Regions from separate parts of the Homo sapiens genome. Here regions 2, 3 and 4 are each linked to region 1. The links are contacts of gene promoters, found by promoter capture Hi-C in blood cells and fetal thymus (Javierre and others, 2016). All regions are on one chromosome and are shown on one strand. Each heading gives the region's core, a stretch centred on a gene start or on the middle of the fragment in contact. The rest is flanking DNA. Distances are from core to core; before and after follow the strand shown.

Region 1 (7,201 bases), core at 3,412-5,911:
GTCTGTGGGTTGGCAATTGCAGCAAGGCTCCACTGAGAGGAATGACTCTTTCCTGTTTTGGTTACATAGTGTGCTTCAAGTGGTACCCCCTGAGCTCTTTTATCCTCCAGAATGCTGGCCTAGGTTTGTTCAGATGCCAGAAGCATTCAAGAAAGAGAGCACAGAAGCTGCAAAGCCAAAATGGCGAACACTAAACTCATATGCCATGCTTCTGCCACCTTCCATTAGCTAGTATAATTCACAAGGCCGGTCAAATTCAAAGACTGAGAAATAAACTCCACCTGTTGATGGAAAGAGCGACAGAGAATTTGTGGCTGTTTTGTGTATAGTACCATAACACTCTTTTTAGTACTGGATAGGTCAGGCAGAGAAAAAGAATCAGAAAGTACACAGATTTGAATGATTGACAGTCTTGATAGAATATACAAAACATTGCATATAGTTGTTTACATTCTTTTCAGATACACACAAATGTCTATGGAAATTGACTGTTTACTGGACACATAAAGCAAGTTTTAACAAACTTGAAATAATTGGTTTTCTTCCCACCATGTCCTCAGTCTTTATTGCTAGTATATAAGAATTAGATAACAAAACAATAACAAGAAAAATATTTATAGGGAAATTAAGTAACGCTTCCAAATGAGTTGCATCAAAGAAGAATTATAACAGAAAATATTTTAAATGGAATGGCAATAATAGTACATCTCAAAACTTGTTGTTTGGCAGAGTTCTAGTTATAGTTACGATGAAACAGCCAGTGTCAGCATTAGTTCTTATAGTAAGTAACAAAAAGCTGGGCAAAATATTTAAAACAATTGTTCATAGGCTCTGAGGAGTGACCAGTACAGGGCTGTAATCCTTGAGAGAAGAAAAGGGCATGAGGTAAGCCCCACAATTGGGAAAAGAGCCCAAGCAGAGTACGTCAGTTGTGTTGGCAGAGATCAAAGTTTAGGACTGTAACTTTGGGATGTGGGAAGCAGGGCACTAGTGGTACAGAGCTGCAGAAAGGGAGTCTAAAATTTTTGCATAAAAATATCCCTAGGGTCCTGGCCACTCTTAGACTGGGCATGCAATTTCTCTGGAGGATCTAGCAGTGGAAATGAATTGTAAGCTGAGAACTGAACAGATTCTTAGCTTCAGAGCTGGGTTCTGAAGTTTTAGTCCAACCAGAGGTGGGGTGAGCGTGATGAATACTCCTGGCATGCCCTTGAAACCCCAGAAAGACCATACTCAAGGAATACAGACCATGCCTTAGGAGTAAGGGCAGTGCCTAAAATCAAGGGCAAAACTGAAATAACCCCAGTCTAACAAAGTCGAATGCCAAGCCTTGATGGAATCTAGATGGCCTGCTATCTCCCTGTAAGAACAAAACTACATTCTTTAGAAGACAATATAAACCAGAACTTCTATATCAGTAGAAGATAATATAAACCAGAACTTCTATATCAGTAATCAATATATGCACAAAGAAGGAGGCAAAAAGCAACCATCTTTTACTTAGCTCAGTGACATAGTTTAAAAAGTTTGATGGGCTTACATTGGTAGCAAGATGGAAGAACAAACATTCTTTGCTGTGGAGTAGCAGCTTCTTAGAGAATGGTTTGGTAAGATCTATCAAAATTCACATTAAAAATCATTCAGTAATTCCACTTTTATGAAGTTCTCCTTATCATATATGCATGTGTGAAAAGACAGATATACAAGTTGATTCATTGCAGAATGTTATATAAAAACAAAAGATTGGAAACAACCTAAATGACTGTTCTGAAGTGGACTGATGAAATAAACTATGGTATTTTTATTCATCAGAATACTATGCAGTGGGATAATATATGTTACATACATATCTAATAAGTAATAATCTCAAAGATAAATTATTGTTAAAAGAACACAGATCAGTTTGTTTCCAGTGCTGCCATTTGTGTAAATGAACAATATTTATAGACAGTCCAAGAAACTGGTAATAGAAATTGCCAGTGGGAGGGCATCTAGGTGGCTGGGCTGTAGAGACAGGGAGACTTTTTATGGTATTTTTTTATACCTCTTGAATATTTTATTATGATGTGTGTTATCTACTCAAAATAATAAAAAGTTATTCCATAGTTAATATTATTAATGGAGCCATCTGAGGGTTGTAATGAGAAATGAAATTCAACCCCTACTTCTCTTTCCTAGCTGTGGTCCATTTGCGTAGAAAGGAGCTTTTTTTTCTAATTCACATAAAAATGCTGTATGAGTTAGTGACCACCCCAACTTCTAAACATATGTTATTTTTTATACATAAACATACACACAAAACATACCTACATATATGTATGTGTATATATCCATACACATACATATATATGCACACACACTACACATACACATGCATACACATGTGGATTCACCCTACAGGTATCTTTGTGAGTACACTAGAATTGATACATTTATTCATTTGCATGCTGATTTTGCTTGTGACTAAACTTACAGCTTTTTTCCCTAAAATAATACAAGCATAATTAGTTAAAATTACTGTATCTTTCTGGGTACAATTTGGTTTTGTTGTTTGTATTTCTGTTACATGACCATTTTTTAAGTATACATAATAGTCTTTTGTGAAGAGGATTCCTTCCAGCACACAAACTGATAAACTTGTTTCAATTTCTGCCTTAGGAGAAAGATACAAGAGTATGTGAACATCCACTCTCAGACATAGTGATTGCCGGGGAAGCTGCTCATCCTTTACCACACACCTTTCACCGCTTGCTGCAGACCATCTCAGACCTTATGATGTCTCTCCCCAGCGGCAGTTCATTACAGCAAATGGCCCTGAGGTAATTTTGGTATCCACATATCCTAGGTACATTGGACAAGAGAGTTTATGGAATATTCAAAGTATGAAATGCTCCAAAAAAAGCTCTTTAAATAGTAAGATAGAATCCCTACATTATATAGATGGTGCCTCCCTCCTTACAGTCATAATTTTTAGAATGGTCCTTCCTCTTAGTTAACATTTGTTTGCCCTCCTGTAAAATGTGGCTAATGTAATTCTTAGTGCCCTAAATTATCACTGTAGCAATCTCCCTCACTTTCCCCAGTCTCCTACCTCAAATCACTTAAATGTCCCAAAAAGAGAGAGGGAAAATGAAATCTCAAAAACAAAAACCAAAATAGAGTTTTGACTTGAAAAGAATCTTGGGGAAAACAGAGCCTGGTTGTATGCACCCAGTCCTAAAAGCACCTTAAGGAGCATCACAGATGCTCAACAGATTCCAATTTCAATTTGAAATGTGTTGAGAATTTAGCATTGCTTTTACACTGTGAACCTTGTTACTAGATTCACATACTGGACTCACACTTATAAATAAATTCTCCTAATTAATGTATACAAGAAATAGATTGATGGAATGCTTGGGCTTCCCATGTTACTAATGATAAGACCAGTGGAAGAGAGATTTCTCTTTGTCCTCCTCACAAGATTTTTGAACTACAAGATAAACTATACCCTGATGAATTAGTATGGCATTGTAAGAGTAATAAATTTGAGGGGTTGTTGCAGTTGGTGTACCACTTGTTTACACAATAGATTCATTACCCTTTTTGCTTCTGTAGCCTTGATCTTCATCTGTCTAATTCTTTTATATTTAAAATGGGTCAACTTTCCTTAGAATTTACCTTGTTCCAAAGAAGTTACCTTTATTTCTCAAAAACAAAAACAATAGGAATGATTTTCTTCCCTGAATTTTTAAAATGTCTGTTACTAGAACATTAAAATTTCTTGAGATATTAGCTACAGAGTACTCATCTAAGAGTTCCTTAGATGTTCCTGGAAAATAATTATTTCGTATATTGCTTATATATCGCCTTTTTAGGTGCTGGAGTCTCAAATTCAAGCAATCTGATCACCAGTTCCTTCATCAGAGCAACGTCTTTCATCACATTAACAATATTTTGTCAAAGTCAGATGATGGCGATAGTGAAGAGAGTTTTAGCATCAGTATACAGTCTGGCTTTGAAGCTATGAGTCAGGTCAGTCATTTCAGTTATTATCCTGGTTGTCCTGTTAGTTAATAATACATCAAAGGAGAAACTGTAAGTTATTCATAATCAATTTGATCCTGTCTTCCATTATGTTTTATCTTATACCTGTTTGTTTTATCATCACGAAAGATTTGCTTTTAAGTATCATAAGTACTTATATTTGTTTCTGATAGGAATTATGCATAGTAATGTGCTTAAAGGACTTAACCAGCATTGTTGACATAAAAACTTCAAGCCGACCTGCCATGATTGGCAGTTTGACAGACGGCTCCACAGAAACCTTTTGGGAATCAGGAGATGAAGATAAAAACAAAACTAAGAACATCACCATCAACTGTGTAAAAGGAATCAATGCCCGCTATGTGTCTGTTCACGTGGACAATTCCCGAGATCTTGGGGTAAGAAAGCAAACGTGATTTACGGCTCTTTAGCTCTTTTCAGATCTTAGTATTCATGCACTTTCATTTCTGAATTTAGCAACAAGCTTTATCACCTGGAATTTCACCAACCAAACATCATTGCTATAATCCCCAAATAAATCTTAAGTCTAAAAACAAATTAATATGATTGGGAGCACTGTGGAATTCCATTTCTGAAAAGAGGTCTGATTACAAATATACCATGGCTACAGCTAAGCAAAATGAAAGTCTGCTCTACAATTTTCTGCTGCCATTCCCTTGGTTAAGATTTTCCCGTGACCTGGAAGTCCTCCCCTTAAACTCTGCTGATCAATTCTTCCAGGGTCTCTCAAACTCAGCAGAGAAATTCTAAGTAACTCCTCTAAAAAATTACTCTTTCCCTCTGCTGATTCTTTTTGTATTACTCTGGTGGCACTTAATAATAATCTTTGACCTATAGTGTAATCAGCTTTTTTTTTTTTTTCTGAGATGGAGTCTCCCTCTGTCACCCAGGCTGGAGTGCAGTGGCACAATCTTGGCTCACTGCAACCTTCGCCTCCAGGTTCAAACGATTCTCCTGCTTCAACCTCCTGAGTAGCTGGGATTACAAGCACACGCCACCATGCTTGGCTAATTTTTGTATTTTTAGTAGAGACAGGGTTTCACCATGTTGTCCAGGCCGGTCTCAAACCCCTGGCCTCAAGTGATCTGCCCACCTCAGCCTCCCAAAGTGCTAGGATTACAGACATGAGCCACTGCACCCAGCCTATCTTCAAGTGTCTACTTTGCCACAGTCCTCATGAAATAAAAAATAAGTTTCAGACTGTCCCAAATAATCATAATTTATATTCTCTTCAGCCTAGTTCATCCATGTGTTTCAACTGAATTAAATATTCTTTTATAAAAGGCACTAAACAAGAAAAAAGAGTCCTATTTGCTTGAGTATTAACAACCAAGAAAGAAATAGCACTAACTGCCAGACTGCCTTTCTTCTACCTCATTTAGAATTTTTTTCCTCAGAATGGATGTGGCTTGCTAGCAGATACAGTATTAATGGCTCTCCTTGAACCATTGCCTGGCTTCTCCTGTGCCATTTGCATATTTCCTTTCTCAGGAAGAGCCACAGTGGTAGGATTGGGTCTCAGATAACCTGGATGCAGGCCAGTCTGCAATCAGAGCAACCTCCAACTCCTGTACATCAGTGCAGGTTCTATTCCTCCCTGGTATTGAGTAAGTAAAAGAGGCTTAGCTAATATAATATGAGCTATTTCCTCCTCAGACCTAAGAATTTCCACTGGTGTAACTACTTTATCTTACTGGAAAGTCAAGTGTAACAAAGCAAAACATTTTTGTAGCTAGAACTCACTGTTCAGTGCAAAGCTATCTTTGGCTCATGGTACATTTTAAGCAAGGACATACTCTCCCTCAGAACAATGATTGCAATCAATTTAACACTTCTGTCTTTTCTAAGAGGAAATAATCATAACAGTATTCATTTTCAAAATTCCCAACATGTAAGCTGACATCTACTTTCCTTTTAACAGGCTTCCTCTATGTTATAGGTTGAGCATTCCAAATCTGAAAATCCAAAATGCTACAGAATCTGAAACTTTTTGAACACAGATATGACACTTAAAGGAAATGCATATTGGAGCATTTCTGGTTTTAGATATTCAGATTTGGGGTGCCCAGCCAGTAAGGATAATGCAAATAGAGTATTTCAAAATCCTAAAAAATCCCTAATCCAAAACACTTCTAGTCCCAAATATTTCTAATAAAGGATACTCAACCTGTATGTATGTTTTCCTTGAGTTATGTACCTCCATGTTCCTCAACCTGCCTACCACAGAGCCTTGTACACAGCATTTGTTGATTTGAGTTGTATCAGCCTACAGCACTCATATTATGCAGCTCTCCAAGGAATTAATGTTAATCTATTTCTTGATGTGCTTTGCGTAAAACTTATTCAGCCTTAAGATATTTGACACTAGTTTGAACATGTATTGAACTTGTACTGTTTGACATTTATTTTGTGTATTAATGTTGCCTTCCCTAGTTTGGCAAGTATCTTGGGGGATAGAACCTCCTCTCATATATCCTACTTCAAATCTGTAAGGAAGTCTGGGTACATTGTGACACTCATAAGTATTTGTTAGTTCAGTTACCTTCCCTCTTTATACTTCCAAAAGTAATGAAAATATAGCAACAAGAGTCTGACATAAGTGACAAGCAGATTTGTTGAAAGGCTTCATGAGGAAGGAATCTGAATATTTAGACTTTGAATAAGGAGAGGGAATGTCAAGCTGTGAGAGAGCACCTGGAGAGAGGCTGAAATGTGCAATTTAAGATGGAGTTTGTGAGAATGAGACTAAAGTTATAGGAACCGTGGTTAGTTGGAGGGATGGGGTGGGGTCAATCAGGAAGGACCATAAGAGACAGGCAGAAGAGTTGATGTGGTATTAGTAGGTCATGAGAAACCATTGTAAGTTCTGAAGCAGGAATATAGCATATTAACTATTGTGAATTGTCTATTTCAGAATAAAGTTACCTCAATGACCTTCTTAACTGGCAAAGCAGTAGAAGATTTGTGCAGAATAAAGCAGGTAATTGAAATTTTGTCATTAAATGTTTCGCTACCTAGAGAGAAATTTCTTCTTCTCAGCCTTCACTATTGAATTCCACCCTTGGCACACAACCAAAGTATTATAGGGAATTATCTATTTACAGAACACTAAATTGACAAGTGGTCCAAAACATAGGAATAGTAACCACCATCC
Region 2 (7,201 bases), core at 1,987-4,486, 200 kb before region 1:
AACACGGTGAAACCCCGTCTGTACTAAAAACACAAAAAAAACTTAGCCCGTCACGGTGGCGGGCGCCTGTAGTCCCAGCTACTCGGGAGGCTGAGGCAGGAGAATGGCGTGAACCCGGGAGGCGGAGCTTGCAGTGAGCCGAGATGGCGCCACTGCACTCCAGCCTGGACAACAGAGCTAGACTCCATTTACCAAAACAAAAAACCTGTATTATAGAACTACTCTCAGTTTACTCTGTTCTGTTTAAGTATTGGTATATTTAAGACTGGAAGGTCTATATATATATATATATATATATATATATTTTTTTTTTTTTTTTTTTTTTTTTTTTTTTTTTTGAGACGGAGTCTAGCTCTGTTGCCCAGGCTGGAGTGCAGTGGTGCCATCTCGGCTCACTGCAAGCTCCGCCTCCCAGGTTCAGGCCATTCTCCTGCCTCAGCCTCCCAAGTAGCTGGGACTACAGGCACCTGCCACCGCGCCCGGCTAATTTTTTTTTGTATTTTTAGTAGAGACGGGGTTTCACCGTGTTAGCCGGGATGGTCTCGATCTCCTGACCTCGTGATCCGCCTGCCTCGGCCTCCCAACGTGCTGGGATTACAGGCGTGAGCCACTGCACCCAGCCTGTTATATATATTTTTTCTATATAGTAGATATAGTTAATATTTACAACAAAAGAATAGGTGAAAATATAGACATTTTTAAATGGTGCCTTTATATGACTTATGCATATTGCTTTTTTCTAAACAGAGCTATTCAAAATGATTTTATAATTATAAATGATTTATGACTATTGCCTTTTTACTAAACTGATACCTTAAAATTATGCCTTGAAAGCTTATACATATCCACAAGGGATTGTGTAAATATTTTTTACTACTTGGAAATAGCAGCATAAATGGAACCTGGTCTGAGTTCTTTTGCACATTTTATGGTGGCTGTTCCTAAGTACACCACCATCCTTAATCATATTGTCAGGTTCTTCTCACCTTATTCTCGGCAGATGGCTTGCTTCATATTTCATAGAGTAATACAAGTTTTGTGAACTTACTCAGCTTCTTGATCAGCCATCTTCACATGTCCTTTTTGCCTCCTGTTTTAGAGTGGGACCCTTTTCTTTTTCTTATTTCCTTTGTCTGCAATGTCCTAACTGTACCTACTCTAATAGCTCCTTCCTTCCTTCCTTTGCTTTCCTTTGCTTTCCTTTCCTTTCCTTTCCTTTCCTTTCCTTTCCTTTCCCTTCCTTTCTCCTTTTTTCTTTTCCCTTTCCTTTTCCCTTTTCCTTTGCCTTTCCCTTTCCTTTCCTTTCTTTCACGGAGTTTTGCTCTTGCTGTCCAGGCTGGAGTGCAATGGCATGATCTTGGCTTACTGAAACCTGTGCCTCCTGGGTTCAAGCAATTCTCCTGCCTCAGCCTCCTGAGTAGCTGGGATTACAGGCATGTGCCACCGCGCCTGGCTAATTTTGTATTTTTATTAGAGATGGGGTTTCTCCATGTTGGTAAAGCTGGTCTCAAACTCTGGACCTCAGGTGATCTACCCACCTTGGCCTCCCAAAGTGCTGGGATTACAGGTGTGAGTCACCGTGCCTGGCCAATAGCTTCTTTCTTTAACCTAAAACAAACATGTTTATCTTTAATATGGGAGCTGCTCTACATAGAAATTATGGTCTCTAATTGTAATTTCTTATGCTTAACTAGGAGAGATTGAGATAAAAAACATAGTTGAGTTAGGACGTAGGGCTGGAGGACTTGTATAATTTACTTTTTAGTTAGAATACCAATTCTGTGTATGTGTGAGTCACACTGTATTATAGTAATTGTGCTACTTAAGTTCAATATTGTGAGAGAAAACAAAAGCCTGGGTAAATTTTTTACACAGGTATGCAGATTTTGAATAGTAAACTGTAGTTCAAATTAAATTGCATAAACAAGAACAATGGATTCCTAGGGTGTTTAAAAACATCAGGATTAGTGAGTATTAAATGAAATATCAGGCATTCTTAAGATAACCTTTTGCAGCATAATTAACAGAGTCAAAGGGGTATCTTTCAAAGAAAATTAAAGAAGATCAGATAGCCCAAGTGATTAATACTGAATTTTCTACCAAGTACTGACCTGTCTGCAAACAGGGTTAGCATGGGTTATGGAGCCAAACTGCTGGGGTTCAAACACCATTAAAATTACTAGCTATGTGACACTGGAAGTTATTTGACACATCCGTGCCTCAGTTTTGTCATCTATAGATTGGGGGTTGCATCTACCTCATAGGGTTGTAGTGACAATTTAAATGAATTAATGGATGTTGAGTGCTTGAGAGAACAGTACCTGGCAGAAAGAAGTGCTCGGTAAATGATATATATAGTTGTAAGTGTCAGTTTAGGTGCAAACAAGAAAATGTGTAGGTGCAAATGAATTTGAGTTACTTGTCAAGGAACTCTTCAGTTTATTAAAAAAATTATGCAAGCAAATGAAACTTCTAGAGAATCAGTGCAATCACCTGATGAATGAGAGGTAAAGAGAGGAAGAAGTGATGAGATGCCTCTATGCAGAGGCAAGCAGATACTATGGGTGGGGAGTGAAACTTTCAGGTGATATTTTTTGGCAGCCATTTCCATGACATGAAGGATTGACACTGAGGACGAAATTAGTCTCTTAAGGTTTGAGGTGATGGGATTTGAAGGCAAGTGGGAAATGTTGGCATTTTTCTTTTCCCTTTGACCTTCTCTGTGCCTCAGCCCCAAATGCTGCTATTATCCTAGTTTGCTCCTTTTCTTTGTTCCTCTGTTGCTCCTCCTAAGTGTGTGGCTGTCCCATTCCTTCTTGCCTGAGGTTTCTGTTTCTTGTACTCTTTTTTTTTTTTCCTTAACATGATTAAGACAGTTTTTAATCTGTTGTTGAAGTGTTGTTGTAATACAGTTTTATTTTTCCCATTCTTGAGTTTTAAATTATTATTTAGTTACTAATAAATTGAGTTTGACTGTTATATAGACCTTGATTGTCACCCTTTTGCTTTTTGCTTTTGTTTTTGTGTTTTGCGGATCAGTAATCATTGATGTATTTAAACGAGCTTTCTATTCCCTGAATGCTTCTACATTAAGTTTTTTAACCAGCTCAAACTGTCACTAAAATCTACATCCTCTAAAACTTTACAGATTTTATAGCTACATAATTTTTATTATTTTTGTTTTTATTTTCATTTTGAGACAGGGTCTGGCTCTGTCACTGGGGCTGGAGTGCAGTGGCGTGATCTCAGCTCACCGTTAACTTCCGCCTCCTGGGCTCAAGTGATCATCCCACATTAGCCTCCCATGTAGCTGGGACTACAGGTGTTTGCCACCACCCCAGGATACTTTTTGTATTTTTAGTAGAGATGGGGTTTTGCCAGATTGCCCAGGCTGGTCTCGAACTCTTGAGCTCAAGCAGTCTGACCGCCTCAGCCTTCCAAAGTACTGGGATTACAGGCAGGAGTCACCGTGCCTGGTGCATAATTTTTAAATAGTAACGCTTAGAAGTCATATTTCCCATCTGAACCCATTTGAAGCCAGTCATGCCACATTATTAAAAGATTTAGACTTACCTAGGATCATTTCTTTCTTAATTCAGTATATTCTTTTTGAATTTGTAGCCAGCATTATATTAGGTCCTGAGAACAAAAGGATGAGACATAATTCCTGCCCTCAAGAAAGCATTGTCTTGTAGGGATAAGAACCAGGTCAATAAATATTCTCTAGTGCCTTAAGGATTGATAGGGAGTGCTAGATATAGTGGAACACGTTAGAGAAAGGACTCAACACTGGCTGAGATAGAGCAAGAGAGAGAGAGCAGGAAGCTAAATCATGAAGGGCCTTATGTGCCATGTAATTGATTCAGATGTTATCTCATAATTAGTAAATATTGAAGATTTTAAGCAAAAGAATATCATCAGACTTGCATGATTGCATCAGACTCACCACCCTGTAGTTATGAATATGCCTTACTAACACTGGAGTAACTTTGTACTCCAGTAAGTAAGTAACTTTGTACTCCAGTTAGTAAGTAACTTTGTACTCCGGTTAGTAAGGCATATCCATAACTACAGGGTGGTGAGTGAGACTGGAGACAGAGGAACCATTTAGGCAGTTATTGCAGTTGTCTAGAGAGTGTTAATGAGGGTTGGAATTATGGTAGTGACAGTGTTTTGAATATAGGAAATGTTAAGCAGAATTGACAGGAATTAGTAATAAATTGGCTATAACGACTGAAAAAGAAGGCAGAATCTAAAGATATTCTTAAAGGTTTTGTGTGGTGAGGGCCTTTACTGAAAGAGGGAATACTGGATGAGGAACAGTGCTTGGCTGAAATGATGATCAAGTTTAGTTCACATGCTGATTCTGAGGTAAATGTGAAGTATCCAGTGTGTGCTATGTAGGGCTGAAGTTCAAAAAATAAGTGTCAGCTAGAAAAATAGATTTGGGAGTTATCACTATGTAGGCACAAGTTGAAACAAATTTCTGTGAGAGATCGGAGGGGGTGGGATCAAGAACATTGTTTGAAAAAATAGCTTTGAAAAGTTGAAAAGTTTTGAAAAGTTCTCTTCCTCTGAGTGTGAAGAGAAGGGAAGAAGATGGTAGTAGTCATAGATAAATTTGTTAGGCAAGGAACTCAGAAACTTCACACTCATACTTTCTTTCTTTTTTTTTTTTTTTTCAAGATGGAGTTTCACTCTGCTTGCCCAGGCTGAAGTGCAGTGGCACGATCTTGGCTCACTGCAGCCTCCACCTCCTGGGTTCAAGTGATTCTCCTGCCTCAGCCTCCCAAGTAGCTGGGATTACAGGCATGCGCCACCATGCCTGGCTAATTTTGTATTTTTAGTAGAGATGGGGTTTCACCATGTTGGCTAGGCTGGTTTGCAACTCCTGACCTCAGGTGATCTCCCAACCTTGGCCTCCCAAAGTGCTGGGATTATAGGTGTGAGCTACCACACCCGGCCTCACATTCAGAATTCTCCATCTTAGCCTTCTCCTCCTCTCTTTCTGCTGCTGCCTCTTCCCCCTCCTTTTTTCTCTGTCTCTAGATTTTTAAATTTTTTATTATTTGTAGATATTATCTCTGTACCAAATATTTGCTTTATACAAACAATTTTAAAAGACAGTATACTTCACTCTATGGTAATATGTAAATATAATTTTGATTTCCTTTTGAGCTTTTTCAAATATAAAAGTATAGGAAGTGATTTTAGGACCTTTTAACTAAACAAGATACAATTTTTAAGGGTAAAGAATTAATTATTAAATCCAAATGTGATGTAACTAAACTTTTATGATCACACTTAGTCATGAAATAATAAAGTCACGTTTGGAAATATATGATTTGAGAAGGGCAAAATAAAACCTTGAAAGACTCTTTATATATCATTTTTCTTTGGCCAAATATATTTTTATCTCACTTTCCTAGCATATTAGACTGGCTGTATCAGGTAATTATTTGGGCTTCATGTTTCTTTATCTTTCAAATATGATAGATAACCTTCAAAATTTAATTATTTGAGAGCAGCAGTAAAGGTAAAATTCAGTAAATTTACAAAAGACTATTTTCTGAAGAGAAGTGCGAAAGCATGTGTTGGGTAATTAGTTATAGTTCGTTATGGAAAGTATTGAAGCTTCTTGTGTTCTTTTATTGTTATAATTATTATTTTTATTAAATATCACATTTATTTATTTTGCTAATTATACATATTTATTGTAGATGATTTGAAAAATCAGAACATTTTTCTAAAGAGGTATTAAAAATCGGAAGTAATATTTGAAATACCATTAACCAAAATATACCCCAATATAAACATTTTTATTTCTTTTGTCATTTTTTCTATGTACACATTAAAATGTTTTTTACACACAAATGAAATAATACTATATTGGCAGGACTATATTTTTTCTCCTTACACTCTTCCTTCCTGATACTGAAGGAGGGAGAAATATGTGTTTTCATTGACTATAAGACTTCAAACTGTTTTAAAGTCTACTTTCAAAGTTCAAACTTTTGGTAAAATACTTTATACTTAGCCAAACAGCAGAAAAAGACTTATTTAAGAACATGTCTGTTACCTCTGTGCAATAATCCATAGCTAAATATTAAAAATTCTTTAATAGTTGCAGAACTTGAGGTTGATTTTTGTTGTGTATTGAATATATATTACTATTCTGAAAATGAATGTTTTCCCATTTGTTAAACAAAAAGTCTACAATGAACCAAGATGTGGATAATTAGTGAGACTCTCACAGTGTTTAACCCAGACAGATGAAGAGTTCCCTATCATCATTGTGACCAAAGTTTTATGGGCCAGTCTCACTAAAACCGGCTAGCTCTGTTTCTAGGCAGCCCACCTGAGTTGCCTATTGCCATTCACTTGTTATTACACCTTAAACTTACCAGAGAGATCAAGAACCTGTTCATTAGGCAGTCTTACTGTTTCTGGCAAGGTTCAATAATTCCGTTGTCACCGTAGGAAACTGTATCTATAATAAATGAACCTTAGCCAAAAATGTCATCTGTGAAAAATCCTCTTGGATTTATGAAAAATCATGGTTGGTAGCAGAGTAAGCAATCTGAAAGAATAACAGAATATAGTAGTCTTCCATTGGCTTGAGAATAGAGCCCCATATTTTGTACTCTGGAGATCTTTGACTTCACATTTCTCTTTCCTGTAAGTACATAAGCAGATGGAAATCTTGGACAGCATGTTCTTGTTTTCTAGTCCATTCCAGGAAAAGAAACTATATCAAATGTGAAAGTTTAATCACTTAATGTGTTTAATCAATTGAAACTCTATGCAGACTCTTCTGTAATATTAGCTATAATCAAGTCTGTTAGCATTTTAGATAACTTCTCCAAAGACAGTCCTCCTAGTTATTTGACTTCTTAGCTATATCTGTTGTTTCCAGAAAACTTGTAAATGTTAATCAGAACTACAATTGACTTACCTTCAGCCGACTTGCTTCTGGTTTAGAAAATGTATTTCTGAGATGCAGTGGTTTTTTAGCAAACAATTTAGTGAATAAATTAAACAAATATTTAATGTGTGCCTACCATATGCTAGGTAATTGGCTAGGCATGGGAGGTATTAAGCCGTTTAAGACATGTTCCTTGTATATTGGAAGATAATACAAGCCGTTTAAGACATGTTCCTTGTATATTGGAAGATCCCAACATGGTTGGGAAAATGAAAA
Region 3 (7,201 bases), core at 1,204-3,703, 180 kb before region 1:
TGAACGACCTCTTTATGTAATGTAATGCTGTGGATGTTTTATTTTTCTTAGGATGGCTTTGTTGTCAGAATATTTGCCACAAGCACTGAACCTGTTCTACAGCAAGAATTGCAACTTAAACTGGCTAGAAAATGCTTACATGCCTGTGGTATCTCACTATTCGATCTGGAAAAGGACTTGCATATTATAAGTAAGATAGCAAATTAAGTGTTTTCCCTATATTTTAATTTTCAATTTTTCATACTCTTAAAAATGAACATTGTGTTTTCACCAGTTCAGCTTATGTTGTAGCAGCTATTTTGTGTCTGTTACTATTAATATAAAGGATAATTTTGAATTAATATGAATAAATAACTGGGAAACACAGTCTTTAAACAAAGTATGATATTTGAAGACCATTCTAAGGAATTGACTAATAATTTCTCTTTTTTGCTTTGAATAGAGCAAAAGAAAATAAAATTTAATGAGAATTATGGATGGATATTGGTGAATGTCATTAGTTTATATGCTGCATCATTTTTCAACTATTTAAAAATTTGAAAACTTACGTTGTAAATGTTATTACAACAATATACATAGTTCTCTCGTTGAAATTTTTAAAGTTTTTACTTGAATAGATTTTCAAGGTAACTATAGAATGATCTCATAGATTGTCAAAATGGTAATTGGCCTTACACACGGATCAGTAATCTTTCACTTGGATAGAGAAATACAGATAACCACAGAGTATTTCTTGGGCTTAGATTATTTACTTTTGTAATGTTGTAAAAGTAATTAGGATCATGAGTTCTCCTGAGAGTTTTAGTTTTGGCTTGCCATGCCACTCCAGGTTTAATAGTGACCTTCCGTAACTTGTAGGGTTCTTTGCAAGATCCATCTTTTTTGACTGTTATCTCATTACATTTCATAAACTTGGCATTAGTGCTTTACTTTCTATATTCTAATTATGTAGTATTTTTATAATTCTTCCCTAGAAAAATCTTGAATTGAAATTACAGATTTAAAATTTTTAAAGCCCATAAACTAGTTAGTAGTTTGTATAGCTGGACAAAGTCATAAAATGTACCATATGTAAAGCTACAATTACTCATAGTTTTACAATTTGAAAATATGCATAAGGATCTGTGTGTGTATATGCATATTTACATATATATATATTTGAATTGATGGAGTAGCTATATAAGATGTCTTTCTGTAGAAAAAGACATAGGCAGAGAATCTGAAATACTTTAATTCAAATATCTGCATGGCATTGTTCCAAGCTTGAATGACTCTGTGTCTGGACTAACCTCTCCAACCTTTATATATGCTTATTTGTAAACCAAGTGGTATAGTTGTGAGAATCAAATGAGATAAATTTTGTGAATTGTATAATGCCTGGTACCTAATAAACGCTCAATAAAACTTTGAGCATTTATACATTAATTCAAGGAATATTGCTGACATTGAATTTTTAAATTTTTTTGTCGTATATTTAAAAAATTAATTTGGTACTGGTTTGGAACAAGAGAAACAGATTATGATAACTTTATCTTTCCTTGGAGTACTATACCTATGGTTAATATTTTTAAAAATTTGAGCACATGACATTTTGTCATCCTTGTTTTTTAGTGATTTTGAATTGACATTGCAATCACTTAAAATAGTGCATGTTGTATTTAGAATTCTTCATATTAGAAATGCAATAGTATTTATTAGTCTCGTATTTCAGGTACAGGATTTGATGAGGAGTCAGCAATTCTTGGTGCAGGACGAGAGTTTGCGCTAATGAAAACAGCAAATGGAAAGGTAAATTATTCTCTTTGGATTAAAAATGAGCATTCTCTGATTTAAGAGATTAAAATACAATCTGTTGATTAGTTTATATAGTTTGCATGTTTAAGAAGAATCATCTTTTAAATTTTGATTTAAAATTATTTTTTATAAGATAAAATTTTATTCATGTAGGGAACAGTACAGGCATGCCTCATTTTATTGTGCTTAGTTTTGTTACACTTCACAAATAATTGCTCTTTTTACAAATTGAAGGTTTGTGACAACCCTGAGTTGAGCAAGTCTGTTGGCATCATTTTTCTAACCGCCTGTGCTCACTTTGTGTCTCTGTGTCACACTTTGGTAATTCTCGAAATATTTCAGACTTCTTTATTATTATTATATCTGTTATGGTGATCTGTTATCTTTGATGTTACTATTGTAATTATTTTAGGGTGCTGTGAATTGTGCCTATAGAAGACAGGAAACTTAATGGATAAAAGATATGAAAAAGCTATTATGAACTGTGTCTTCTTGGCAAAATATGTGTATTTCTTGCTCAACTCCCAGAAGCTGAATAGTGTAAAAAAGAGTTTGTTTTTATGTGAATTTTATTTTTCAATAAAATATTGATGTCCTTTTTTTTCCTCATGTGAAACCTGATGCACTATTCCAAAAAGTACCATAATTCCTTTTTTTTTTTAATACATAAGATATATTACACTGGCAAATACCAGAGTCTTGGAATCAAACAAGGTGGTCCTTCAGCAGGAAAATGGGTTGAGCTACCAATTACAAAATCTCCAAAGATAGTACACTTCTCAGTTGGACACGATGGCTCTCACGCCCTTTTAGTTGCAGAAGATGGGAGCATATTCTTTACAGGATCTGCTAGTAAAGGAGAAGATGGAGAATCAAGTAAGTTGAGTGATCAACTATGCATTTAATAAAAATAAATGCTTTATTTTAGTAAAAATAAAACTTTATTAAGATAAAGTTTATGAATTTCAATAACACCACACCAACTTTATATATATATCATTGACTTGATGTAACTGCTTAATAAATACATATTGAATGAATGAGGAACTTATTTTACTTTCCAGGATCTAACAAGAATACATGTGAATTACAACTTGGGAAAAAAAGGAGATTTTAGATATGTGTTAGTAGAATGGTATTAATAATGCAATAGCTAATTTAGAGATTGGGCCCTCCAGGAGTTTGGTAGAAAACTAATATTACTCACTGAGAATTTGAATGTACTTCAGGGAATGAGGATCTAGCAATGATAGCGTAAATATTAATTGACCAGATGAGGCTAGCAGGTTCACTGATTTTAAATGACATGTTGGGAAGCCCAGGCCTTTGTGAAAATAAACAAATAGTGTCATAAATGCAAATAATATGGGTTTTTTTTTTAGCTTTATATACAAACCATTATTATTATTATTTGTACATAGAGGTCTTGATTTAATCTAATTTCTTTTTTAAAGCTAAGAGCAGACGGCAATCCAAACCTTATAAACCTAAAAAGATAATTAAGATGGAAGGAAAGATTGTGGTATATACAGCCTGCAATAATGGAAGTAGTTCTGTTATTTCTAAAGATGGAGAACTCTACATGTTTGGAAAAGATGCCATTTACTCTGATAGTTCAAGTAAGTTAATAAAAAGTTTTACTTTTATGCAAAGAAGTTTCAATACTAGTTATGTATGACAAAGACATATCTAGAAAATTTATGTTGGTGGCATGCTTTCTCTACATTTTTTACATTTCCTTCCAAATGTGAAATATTTCGAAAGAGAAATTTTCTGTCATATCTTGTCACTAGGAGCACTGTCCCTAGTTTCATGCAAAGCTAATCATAGAGCTTGGCAAGGGAAGCTTCGCTGTAGCTGTGACTTCTGTGGATGTTTTCCCTAGACTCAGGTGCTTATGGGACATGTCCCTGGGACAGTGGTAGTATCCTGAAGAAGTGATTTTCATGACATAGCTAGTTTATAATTGTTGAAGTATTTTATCTCCCCCATTAGGGTGTTTGGCTGGGATGATCTGTCTTATTTACTATTCTATCCCCAGTGCCCAGCACAGTGTCTGGCACATTGTAGGGTCTCAAGAATTATTTTCTAGTGCCTGGGTGACTGATAAACCAAAAGTTTGAGAAGTGGATATGAGGGGTAGAACTAGCTAAATGGTTTTATATTTATAAATGCTAATCTCAAAAACTTGTCATATTTGGTTACTAGATTTTCTTTCTAGCAGCTAGAAATGAATATAATGAGTGAAGCATCCCACTTGGAAGGATTTTATGTGTGATAAATATGTAAAGCCTTTGAGTTTCTTTGTAAAAAAGGAAACTAGAATTAATGAAGTTTATGATTAGAAATATATGTAATTGTCCCATGCTGGGGAAATTACACCTGTAGAACATTTATAGCAATTAATTATTAAGTGGAGGTGTACCCAGATGATAAGTGAACTGGCTTAATGTTGTAATATTTAGATTCTCAATTGGCTGCAGCTATCAGAGTAAATCAAAATTTGGGAGTGGGTTCTTGTACAGTTTAAAAATAATATTCAATATAATTGTTGCTTGCTAACATCCACTGGGTAGAGCTGATGGAAACTTGTATATTTCTTCAACATATATTTATTGAGCATGGGTGATACATTAGTGATTGATGGACCTGACAGACCTGGATACTGCCTTTTTGAGGATCCGAGAGACAGTTGGGTATTACAGAACTTAAATATTGGGGAAGTGGTATTGAATGGTTATGGACATAGACTGAGATCCTAGCACCAACACTTTTTTTTTTTGAGAGGGAGTCTCACTCTGTCTCCCAGGCTGGAGTGCAGTGGCACAATCTCAGCTTACTGCAACCTCTGCCTCCTAGGTTCCAGCGATTGTCCCACCTCAGCCTCCCAAGTAGCTGAGATTATAGGCACGTGCCACAACACCCAGCTAATTTTTTGTATTTTTTGTATTTTTAGTAGAGACGAGGTTTCACTGTGTTGGCCAGGCTGGTCTCGAACTCCTGACCTCAAGTGATACACTCGCCTCAGCCTCCTCAAGTGCTGGGAATACAGGCGTGAGCCACCGCGCATGGCCCTTGGCACCAACGCTTTTAATTGGGTAACAGTTTACTTAATCTTTAACTGGGTAACAGTTTACTAAACATTTAAGAGTTTTCTTTTTGTTTTTTTCTACCTGCAAAAAATAGATAATGATAGCACCTGCTTCATATAGTTGTTATGAAGATTATAGGAGGTAGAACTTAAGAAATGCTTAGCACATCATGTAAGGTCTCAAAGCATGTCAGCTAGTACTGTTAATAATAATAATAAATAACTACTGTTTTATATATATACACACACCCTTACCTTTTTCAAATGTGCTAAATATTAAAAGTGGAAATTTTTGAGGTATAATTAACAAAAAGACCTAAACTAGTGAAAGGTGAAAGTGAAGGCCACCTTAAGGTAGTGATATCTGAGCTAATAATGTAGAACAGTTTTCCCAAAGCATAATATGAGATTGATACTATTTGTAATTTAAATAAAACAAATACTTGATAACATGTTTTTATTTTAATGTATATTGGAAAAATAATAATCTTTGATTGTTAATGTTAAAGATGCTTCAATCAATTTAGAGTTGATACAAAACATATTAAATAGATAATATGAGTGGCACTTGGATATGACAAATATAATGAAAGTAATACATGAATAAGTGAAGTTTAGAAAATAACTGTGTATTGGATTGTGGAAGAAAGCATTGTAGGTTGAAAAGGATTAAAAAATACTGTTTTGAAAAGTCTCACTGGTTTCTACATAAACAATTTCATGTCAATATACTATGGCAAGTATTTTACTTTGTTTTGCTGAGGCAGGTCAAAGCAGGTAAAATAAATTATTTATGGACTCCTTTGTGCTTAGACCAGAAAAGTTTGAAAGTACTGTGGAGAGGTATTACCATTTGGAGGAAGCATTCAGGAGAAGTAAGCTTGAGAGAAAGCTACAGTAAAGATATGTCCCAAGTCTGGATGATAATGTTTTAGGATTCACTGAAGCTACGTTACAAAGTTACAAAGTTAATTCAGTGATACTCTGCCAGTCTTTTGGCTACTTATTTCTCATTTTGTTGAGTTATTTTGCCCCAGAAATAAACGGTTCTGCATTGAGGTAGTTCTTTTACTAGGCTCAGAAGGGCCTTTTTGTTGTTTTTACTAAATTTGTTTCTTTCCTATAGGTTTGGTAACTGATTTGAAGGGCCATTTTGTAACTCAGGTAGCTATGGGCAAAGCTCACACTTGTGTTTTAATGAAGAATGGAGAGGTGTGGACATTTGGTGTAAATAATAAAGGACAGTGTGGACGAGATACTGGTGCCATGAACCAAGGTGGGAAAGGTAGGTCTTTAATTCTTAGATATTAAAATTTGTGTTGTCTTTTCATTAGTTTTTCAGAACAACATAGTGAAAAGTCTTGTTCTTTTCAAAATGAGTGGCTCTTCTTTTTCTTTTTGTTCCTATTTAAATTTTTTTTAAAAATTTTATGGGTAGATAGTAGGTATATGTATGGGGTACATGAGTTGTTTTGATACAGGCCTACAATGTGTAATAATAATCACAGGGTAAATGGGGTCTCCATCATCTCAAGCATGTATCCTTTCTTTGTGTTATGAGCACTCCAGTTATACTCCCTCAGTTGTTAAAGTATACAAAAAATTATCGCCAACTGTAGCCACCCTGTTGTGCTATCAAATAGTAGATCTCTTGTATCTAATTATATTTTTGTGCCAACTAACCATCCCATTTCCCACCCACTCTCCCTGACTACCCTTCCCAGTCTCTAGTAACCAGCATTGTACTCTCTATCTTCATGAGTTCAATTGTTTTAATTTTTAGCTCCCACAAATGAGTGACAACATGTGAAGTTGGTCTTTCGGTGCCTGGCTTCTTTCACTTAACATAATATCCTCCAGTTACATCCTTGTTGTTGCAAATGATAGGATCTCAGTGTTTTTTATGGTTAAATAGTACTACCTTGTGTTTATATGCCACATTTTCTTTATCCACTCATCTGTTGATGGACACTTAGGTTGCTTCCAAATCTTGGCTATTGTGAATAGTGCTGCAATAAACATGAGAGTGCAGATATCTCTTTGATGTACTAATTTCCTTTCTTTTGGGTATATCCATAGCAGTGGGATTGTTGGATCATATTGAGTTCTAGTTTCAGTTTTTTGGGGAAGCTCCATACTGTTCTCTCCAGAGTGGCTGTACTAAATTTACATTCTCACTAACAGTGTACAAGTGTTCCCTTTTCTCCACATCCTCTCCAACATTTGTTATTGCCTGTCTTTTGGATAAAAGCCACGTTAACTGGGGAGAGATGGTATCTCAGTGTAGTTTTGATTTGCATTTCTCTGATGATCCAT
Region 4 (7,201 bases), core at 1,476-3,975, 140 kb before region 1:
ATGTATGTCAACAAATTTACTTTCTTAAAATGTAGAAAATAATTAAATTCTTAGTAAATTATTGGCATTTGGGTTAGCTTTTGCTGTACTGTTCAACCTTTATAAAAACAAAAATGTTAAATTCCTTCCTTGAAGATTATTTGATAAGGTATTAACAGACATTAAAGTTCTGCTGTTTCATTGATGTTGTACGTAATTGTGCAGACCTCCTATCCTAGATAGGAGAGAACAATATTTTATATGTAGTTACTCATTATTAAGAAGATTTTACAGTTGACCTGAACCAGTGTGTTAATAAGAATTAATGTTATTAAATGGCATTTATACGAATTTTTAAGTGTGTATTATGAAAAAATTATACATTTATATGACCTACAAAAATATTTTTCAGAACTAAAATTAATTTCTCATTAAATACAAATTTGTCCTTCAGTTACCTATTTTTAATGGTTCTATAAATCTTAAATAGTGAAAATTACACTGCTTTTAGTATAGTTGTGATAGAAATGTAAAATGCATATAATGAAAAAATAAAGCTGTGTGTTTTGGTTGCAGTGGTTTTAATGGAAAATGGAGATGTCTATACATTTGGTTATGGGCAGCATGGGCAGCTAGGACATGGAGATGTCAACTCCAGGTACTTGCTAACTTTTCATTTGAAGATCCAGAGTTATTTTTTCTTCTGTTTTCTTTTCCTTCTTTTTTCTTTCTTTTCTCTTTTTAAGTATATATTTCTAGAATTAAAATAATATTATACCACTGCTTTGCAAAGTGTGGCCCATGAATTATTGGTGGTTTCTGATCTTATGGTTGAGTGCTTTTGTAGAGATAAAGGATTTTGTAGTTTCAGGAGAAAAGCTGATATATATTTTAAATAGGAGAGTGATTATGATTGTCACAAAATATCACTATATTCTTAGCAATTATCTTTTTAAAGGCTGTGCATGGCAATAGAAAAATAGTGAATTGTATTTTTAAAAAATGTCAGCAATGGATTCAAACATATTCCTGATGTCTGTTTTGAAATTTTGGTCTAATAACATGCAGTCATTGAAGCTTTTGAATAATTTTTGGACAGAACCTATTGGTCTCTCTGATTAACTCTTTTGACTTATTGCAAATAGTAGTAGAGAGACTGGTGGTAATTTCCTAATATCCCTACTTCATTTGTTTTAGTTTTAGTTTTAGTTCGTGACATGATCGTGCAGCTAAAGATTCCCTTTCTCAGCTTCCATTGCAGCAGGATGTGGCCATGTGAACTTAAGTGATAGGTGCCACTTTGGAATCTTGCTGTTAAAGGGAAAGGGTGTACCTTTCCATTTGTCCTTCTCTCTTCCCAGCTTGCTGGCTGGAATGAATATGTGGAAGCAGAAACTAAAGAAGTCATCACAGAGATAAGTTGGAGACTGTGTACTGAGAATGGCAGAATCATAAGATGGGAATAGGCTGGGTCTCTGACACCATGAACTGCCTCATCAGCTTCTTAAATTGCATGCTTCTTGCGTGAGAAATAAACTTGTATCTTGAAGTCCCTCTTACTTGTCTTTCATTACAGCAGCCGAGTTTGTATTCTACGTAATGCAGTCAGAATACTTTTGGTCAAAAGTAATAGAAAATCCATCTTTATTAGTTCAGGTCTTCCAGAAAGCAGATGCCAAGACAGGATTAGATATGCAAAGAATTTATTAGATACATGTAGTTTTGACCCTATGAAAGGAGAAAGAGAAGGAAGAATCGGGTAGGAGTCTAGGTTCCAGCATAACATTAAGAGAGTTTTAGCCAGGCCAGTGATGTGTCCCCAAGCTGAGGATACCTTTGGAAGGGTCCTGCATTGGGCAGGAATAGACCAACATTCATACCTTCACCATGTTCAGTCACAGCTGGTAGCACCCCAGGGGACGAATGTCCTCGTGCATCCAAAGGGACAGCACCTGAGGCTGTTATAATAGTTAACTCTGCTCTCTGTAGCAGATTGTCTTGAAGGAGATCTGAGTGGTCTGTGTCTGTGGTTGTCTCACCATGGAAACAGGAGTATTTATGAAGTCTGGAAAGATAGAGAGCAGCTTCAAGCCAGACTTCACTCAGCAATTCACTTAGCTGCAAAAACTTACCTTTTGACCTTCTACTCTGCCTTATTCTTCCTCGCAGTCACAGTGTATATGCCAGAATCAAGGGGACTTCTATGGTTTCTCCTTTACATACAGTGAAAGAAAGAGAACTTACCTTCACATAGTCATTAAATAAAATTCAAGGTTGTCACTGTGTCTTGAACTCACTCTACTATTGTGGCAGGGATGGAATTCTGCCATTTACATGGTAAAGATTAGTGATTCTTAACCCTGGCTGTATATTAGAATTACTTAGGGAATTTGAAAAAATATCATATGTGGATTCTACATCCAGCATTTCTGAGAGATGTGTGTGTTGAAAGGCTTGTGGGTGGGACAGGGGTGGGGAGTGGTCCTTGATAGGATGCCAGCATCAGAGTTTTTTCTAAAAGGTCCCCAGATTCTATATGTATCCAGGATGAGAACCACTCTCTACCCTTCGAGCTGAGGCAGGGTCAGATCTGTGGGCACTGCATAAAAAATGGCAACAAAAGGGAATGTCCTGAGTTATGTTTATGAATGTTGTTGCTAATGATAAGAGACGATTGAGATATCATTGAGTTGAACTTCTTATTAAAAACACAACTGAAACATAAAATTGATACTACTATCAAGAGGTTTGTAAAACTATCACAATCATAAATATTTAATGACTAATATCATACTTGCAAAGAGCAAAAGATGTGTTTGGCAGAATTACTTTATCAGATGTGTCTGCTGGATATGACATAATACCAACAGTGTTGAGCAATTACTGTCACAGGTGTTAGATGCCAACTGATATTTTGCTTTGCAATTGAGTAACATTACTGAAATGCAGAGGCTGAATCTGGGTAGTAATTACAGTTGGCCCTCTGTACCTGTGGGTTCTGCATCTGTGGATTCAATCAATCTTGACAGAAAACATAGTTAGGCCTACGATAATTGCATCTGTACTGCACATGTACAGATGTTTTTGTCTTGTTATTATTTCCTAAACAACAGAGTATAACAACTATTAACATGGTGTTTACATTGTATTAGGTATTATAAGTAATCTAGAGATGTTTTAAAGTATACAGGAGGATGTGTAGTTTATGTACAAATACTATGCCAATTTATATAAGGGATTTGAGCATCCCTAGAGTTTGGTAGCTGCAGGGGATCCTGGAACCAATTCCCCATGGATGCTGAGGGATGACTATAACCTGTGTGGGGAAGAACGTGGCAACTTTTTGTTCTGTTTCTCATTTGAGAGTTGGGACACAGAAGAAGAGGGTTTATTTGTATCATCGTGGCTATTGTTGTTGTTATTTAGCTGGTGGTTATTTTGTGAGCCATAGAAACTGGGAAAGGTGCATTGCAGTTAGATAAGATGGGGTCTCAGTCATGTATGCAGCAAAGAGGGCACTTCACAGAAAATAATTGGCAAATAGTATTTCATGGTCTTGCCAGAGTGGAAAGGGAAGTAGTGAAAAGCATGGCCATGTTATAGTCAGGTTATGTTATCTTACTGTGCACTTGGCACTCAGAAGAATGAGCAGCATGAGCACAACATCCTTCCACACCACACTGAGGTGTGTTGGCCGCTGAGAGGGAAGGTGTTCATGTCAGCTTTTAAAATGAAGAGATTACCTAAAAACATTACTTCGTGGTCCTGATTATACCAGTGAACACCATTCTTCGATTCCCAAGTCTGAAGAGATATAGGGCAGTTTCAGGCCAGACTTCCTCAGGTAATAATATTGTAGCAATATGCTCAATATTTTAAATTGCTTGAATTTATCGTCTTCATGAAATACGATAGCATTTAATGTTGAAACAAAATATCAGGGTTTCTTATGAAGATTAAACATTGGTAGGATCTACACAGTGGTATAGTAACTGGTAGATGCTACATAGTCATCGAACCTGGAACTGTAGAGGCAAGGTTCAGCTCTTCACTTCTTACCAACCATATGACTATAATTTCTTAAGATTAAACACTGGTGGGATTTGTTTTAACTGCCCAAAGTTGTTCTTTTCCAGCATGGAATGTTTTGGTCCTTGTTCCATTGAGTGGTAACTGAAAGACTGATTACATGAAGTGTGGGCAGAGCTACAACGGATAATGCAGTAGTCATACCTATATACTGTGCCTAGTGGATTAGATATTCATCAAGACCGCTTCAGTCTTAAGCACTCAGTTACCCTGTCTGTCTGGACTTTTGTGGAACTTGGAAAGTAGCAACCAAGAACTCTGTTATTAATTCAGAAAGGAGTTGATTATGTCTATAGAGGAACAATCTTGGGAGGAACAAAGCTTCTATAGCATATGTATTAACTACAACAAAGCAAAACATTTACAGATAGTTGAAATAAAGGGTTACAGTTGGAGAATATGTTTGAAAAGTCTCTAGTAATCAAGAGCTGTTAACTGGAATTTACTATATAGCACACATTAATAATGTGTTGTTTAAGATCAATATTGTGGTATGCATGATAATGAAGATGGAAAAGTGTTATTGATATTCTCTTTATTTAATGTGTTATATTGCCAGAATGACTGAGTTCAGTCTCTAGGTTGGGTCCTGATTCTGTCACTTGGTAGCTATATGATCTTGGCCAGGTTACTTAATCTTCTTGTGTCTCAGTTTCTCAAGTTTAAATATCCATAATCTGATGATACTTTCTTCTTCTGTGATGCAGCCCTACTTTATTTCCCTTTGACTTTATGCCCCACAGCCCTCTACTTTTTTACTCTTTTTTCACCCTTTTTTTAACTTTATTTCCTACTCAAGTTAAAGACTGTTGCTTAATTTCTTCACCTATACTCTTACCAGTTTCTTCAGTTTTCCCACTCTCTTGGTCGTGGTGCTAGGACATGATAAAACCGCAAACATGAATCAATCTTAATATTTCCTATGCCTATACTTAGGCTTCTGGAAGGTAAGAAATCACCATACCTATGCAGATTGATACTTAATTTCCAGATTCAACCAGTTCCTGTACAATGGTCATTAATCCTCCTGTTGTGTAGTATTGAACTATTTGACTTAATACCTTTTGAGAGTTTGATGAAAGACATGGGGTCTCTATGAAAAATACAAGAATATACACTTAAAAATTTGCTTGCAAATTTAGGAGATCTTTTGAAGCTCACTCATGGACTTCCTAGAAGTCCTTTATATCTGAGTTGAAAACTCCTGCTCTCGGTATGTATCTATTCCATCTACCACCACACCTTTTCTCGAATCTTCAAACTCTCCACTCACCTGTTTCCTCCTTTTAGCATAGGATCTCCATGTACATTGCAACAGATGTAAGAAATTATTCAGCCCACCAACCCTGCAAACCTACTTCCATCCATACCACTTCTCTGCTTCTTTCCTCATGTTACAGTTAAAGAGGAACCTGTTGTGTCCTTGCTATGAAACCTAGCTGTCTTTTCCTTAGAGATCTATTTCTGTTTCCTGTCTTCTCTCTAACCTTTGTCTTTAGCGTCTTTATTTTGAGTCACCTTTTAAACTTCCTCAAATCTCTTATCATTAAAAAAAAAAAATCCTCTCCTTCAGCTTCATTTTTCCTTTAGCTGCTGGCTCTCCTTTCTTTTTCCCTTTAGTGCTGGGATACTTAGAGCTACTTTGTGTATTCTCTGACTCCTTATCTGCTGCATTGTGGTGCCTGCTTCCACCAAAGAGACCTCCTTCTGCTAAATCGAGTGGTTAGGTGTATGTCTCCTTAGAGCATTTGGCATGTACTTTATTTTCCACGCTTGAAACCTACTCCTCCAATGAGTCTCCTTGAGTTCTTTCTTTCTGTGTGGTTTATTCTAGATGTCTGTGAGCTGTTCTTCCTCGGTCTGTATCTAAAATGTTAGAAGAGACTCATAAGGGAAATTAGGATCTCTTCTTTTCTCTCTCAAAGAGTCTTCCTAGATCTCATTCATTCTCATAGCTTAAGTGAATATTACCACTATCTACTCTGTTGCTTAAGCAAAAAAAATCTTCCTTGCCCCATATCGATCATCTGCCAAGTTTCATCAATTCTGTTCCTTACATAGCTATCAAAGTCACCATCTCTTTCACTCTGCACTGCTCCTAGTTAAGGCCTTCATCATAAATTACCCAAACTACTATATAATTTTTAAAATTTAAAGTGTCATAATTACATTTCTCAAAAGCAGAGCTCTCCTGCTATGTGTGGACTATTTCTATAATGGTTGTGTTTCTAATTACAGATAATGGTTACTAAAAATGGCTGTTAAAAGTAGGAAAGGATACTAGGATGTCATTTATCATAATAGTTACTGTTCATTAAGTGTTAACTGTGTGCCAGACGCTGATCCAAGTACTTGACACGTATGGGCCTCTTTACTGTTCACAGGAACTCTGTGGGGGTAGACACCGTTTGTTAGTATTCTCCATGTGATAAAGAGGAAACTGAAATACAAAAAGAATGAAAAACTTGTTCGAAGTCTGGTCGCATTATTATTAAGTTGGGGAGCCAGGATTCACAACCAGCCAGTCTAGCTTTAAAGCCTGAGCTTGTAGTCACTGCTCTAATGCCTCTCATGATACTGTGTTTTGACTCATTAACTGTGATTCTAAGATCTAAACTTATAGCTTAGTGATAAAAGTTAGAAAAGATGATCATAAAATTATTTCATCTAGTTCCTGGATTGAATTTCTGTTAAGGCATTACATGATTTTTATTTCATCCAATAATTATTTATAAAGATCTCTAACAGGCCAGTCAGTATACAGAGTACCAGATTAAAAATAAATGTAGCACCAGTTTTTCAGAAATTATTATGTGTCTATAATTAGGGTAATTACATTTAGAAGATCTTTTTGATGATCTCCTTAAAGTCAGCAACTGTCTTTTTCATCTTTGTTTACCTAGTACCTGGAATGGAGATAGGCGTTTAGCACTTAAATGTTTACTGAATATTCTTATGAGTGCCTTTTATCTTTCCTACTCCTTGTTGCATTGCTTACTTATTGTTTTTATTTTAGTTGAGTTTTGTAAGAAATTGACTTACTTTTTTTTTTTTTAACCTAGGGGATGTCCCACTCTTGTTCAAGCATTGCCAGGCCCTAGCACACAAGTCACTGCAGGCAGCAACCATACGG

The links. Contacts are between HindIII fragments. The CHiCAGO score rates a contact against its expected background, and 5 or more counts as called.
Region 2: a fragment that was not itself captured here is called in contact with the fragment with the promoter of MYCBP2-AS2 in region 1 in 2 of 17 cell types (naive B cells and total B cells); the score reaches 8.0 in naive B cells.
Region 3: a contact is called between a fragment that was not itself captured here and the fragment with the promoter of MYCBP2-AS2 in region 1, in 3 of 17 cell types (total B cells, naive B cells and megakaryocytes). The highest score is 9.9, in total B cells.
Region 4: a contact is called between a fragment that was not itself captured here and the fragment with the promoter of MYCBP2-AS2 in region 1, in 2 of 17 cell types (naive B cells and naive CD4 T cells). The highest score is 5.8, in naive B cells.

What each region holds. Positions count from the first base shown.
Region 1 is chr13:77,078,650-77,085,850 of GRCh38, reverse strand. It overlaps MYCBP2-AS2 (MYCBP2 antisense RNA 2), which reads left to right and starts at 4,661. Exons shown (of 2, transcript NR_170173.1): 1 at 4,661-4,937; 2 at 5,190-5,340. It overlaps MYCBP2 (MYC binding protein 2), which reads left to right. Exons shown (of 83, transcript NM_015057.5): 63 at 2,659-2,819; 64 at 3,858-4,014; 65 at 4,200-4,424; 66 at 6,962-7,027. It overlaps MYCBP2-AS1 (MYCBP2 antisense RNA 1), which reads right to left. Exons shown (of 4, transcript NR_046716.1): 3 at 2,739-2,841. The HindIII fragment of the contact is 5,615 bases long and covers 4,513-7,201 here.
Region 2 is chr13:77,279,893-77,287,093 of GRCh38, reverse strand. All of the region lies in intron 3 of MYCBP2 (MYC binding protein 2), which reads left to right. It overlaps LOC124903184 (a long non-coding RNA gene), which reads right to left and starts at 6,441. Exons shown (of 3, transcript XR_007063827.1): 1 at 6,405-6,441; 2 at 3,574-3,639. The HindIII fragment of the contact is 4,800 bases long and covers 837-5,636 here.
Region 3 is chr13:77,256,640-77,263,840 of GRCh38, reverse strand. It overlaps MYCBP2 (MYC binding protein 2), which reads left to right. Exons shown (of 83, transcript NM_015057.5): 10 at 52-190; 11 at 1,712-1,788; 12 at 2,466-2,670; 13 at 3,249-3,413; 14 at 6,012-6,170. Among named protein-coding and RNA genes, the nearest start is that of MYCBP2, 67 kb to the left of the region's middle. The HindIII fragment of the contact is 2,378 bases long and covers 1,265-3,642 here.
Region 4 is chr13:77,217,887-77,225,087 of GRCh38, reverse strand. MYCBP2 (MYC binding protein 2) reads left to right here. Exons shown (of 83, transcript NM_015057.5): 20 at 556-637; 21 at 7,131-7,201. Among named protein-coding and RNA genes, the nearest start is that of MYCBP2, 110 kb to the left of the region's middle. The HindIII fragment of the contact is 3,333 bases long and covers 1,059-4,391 here.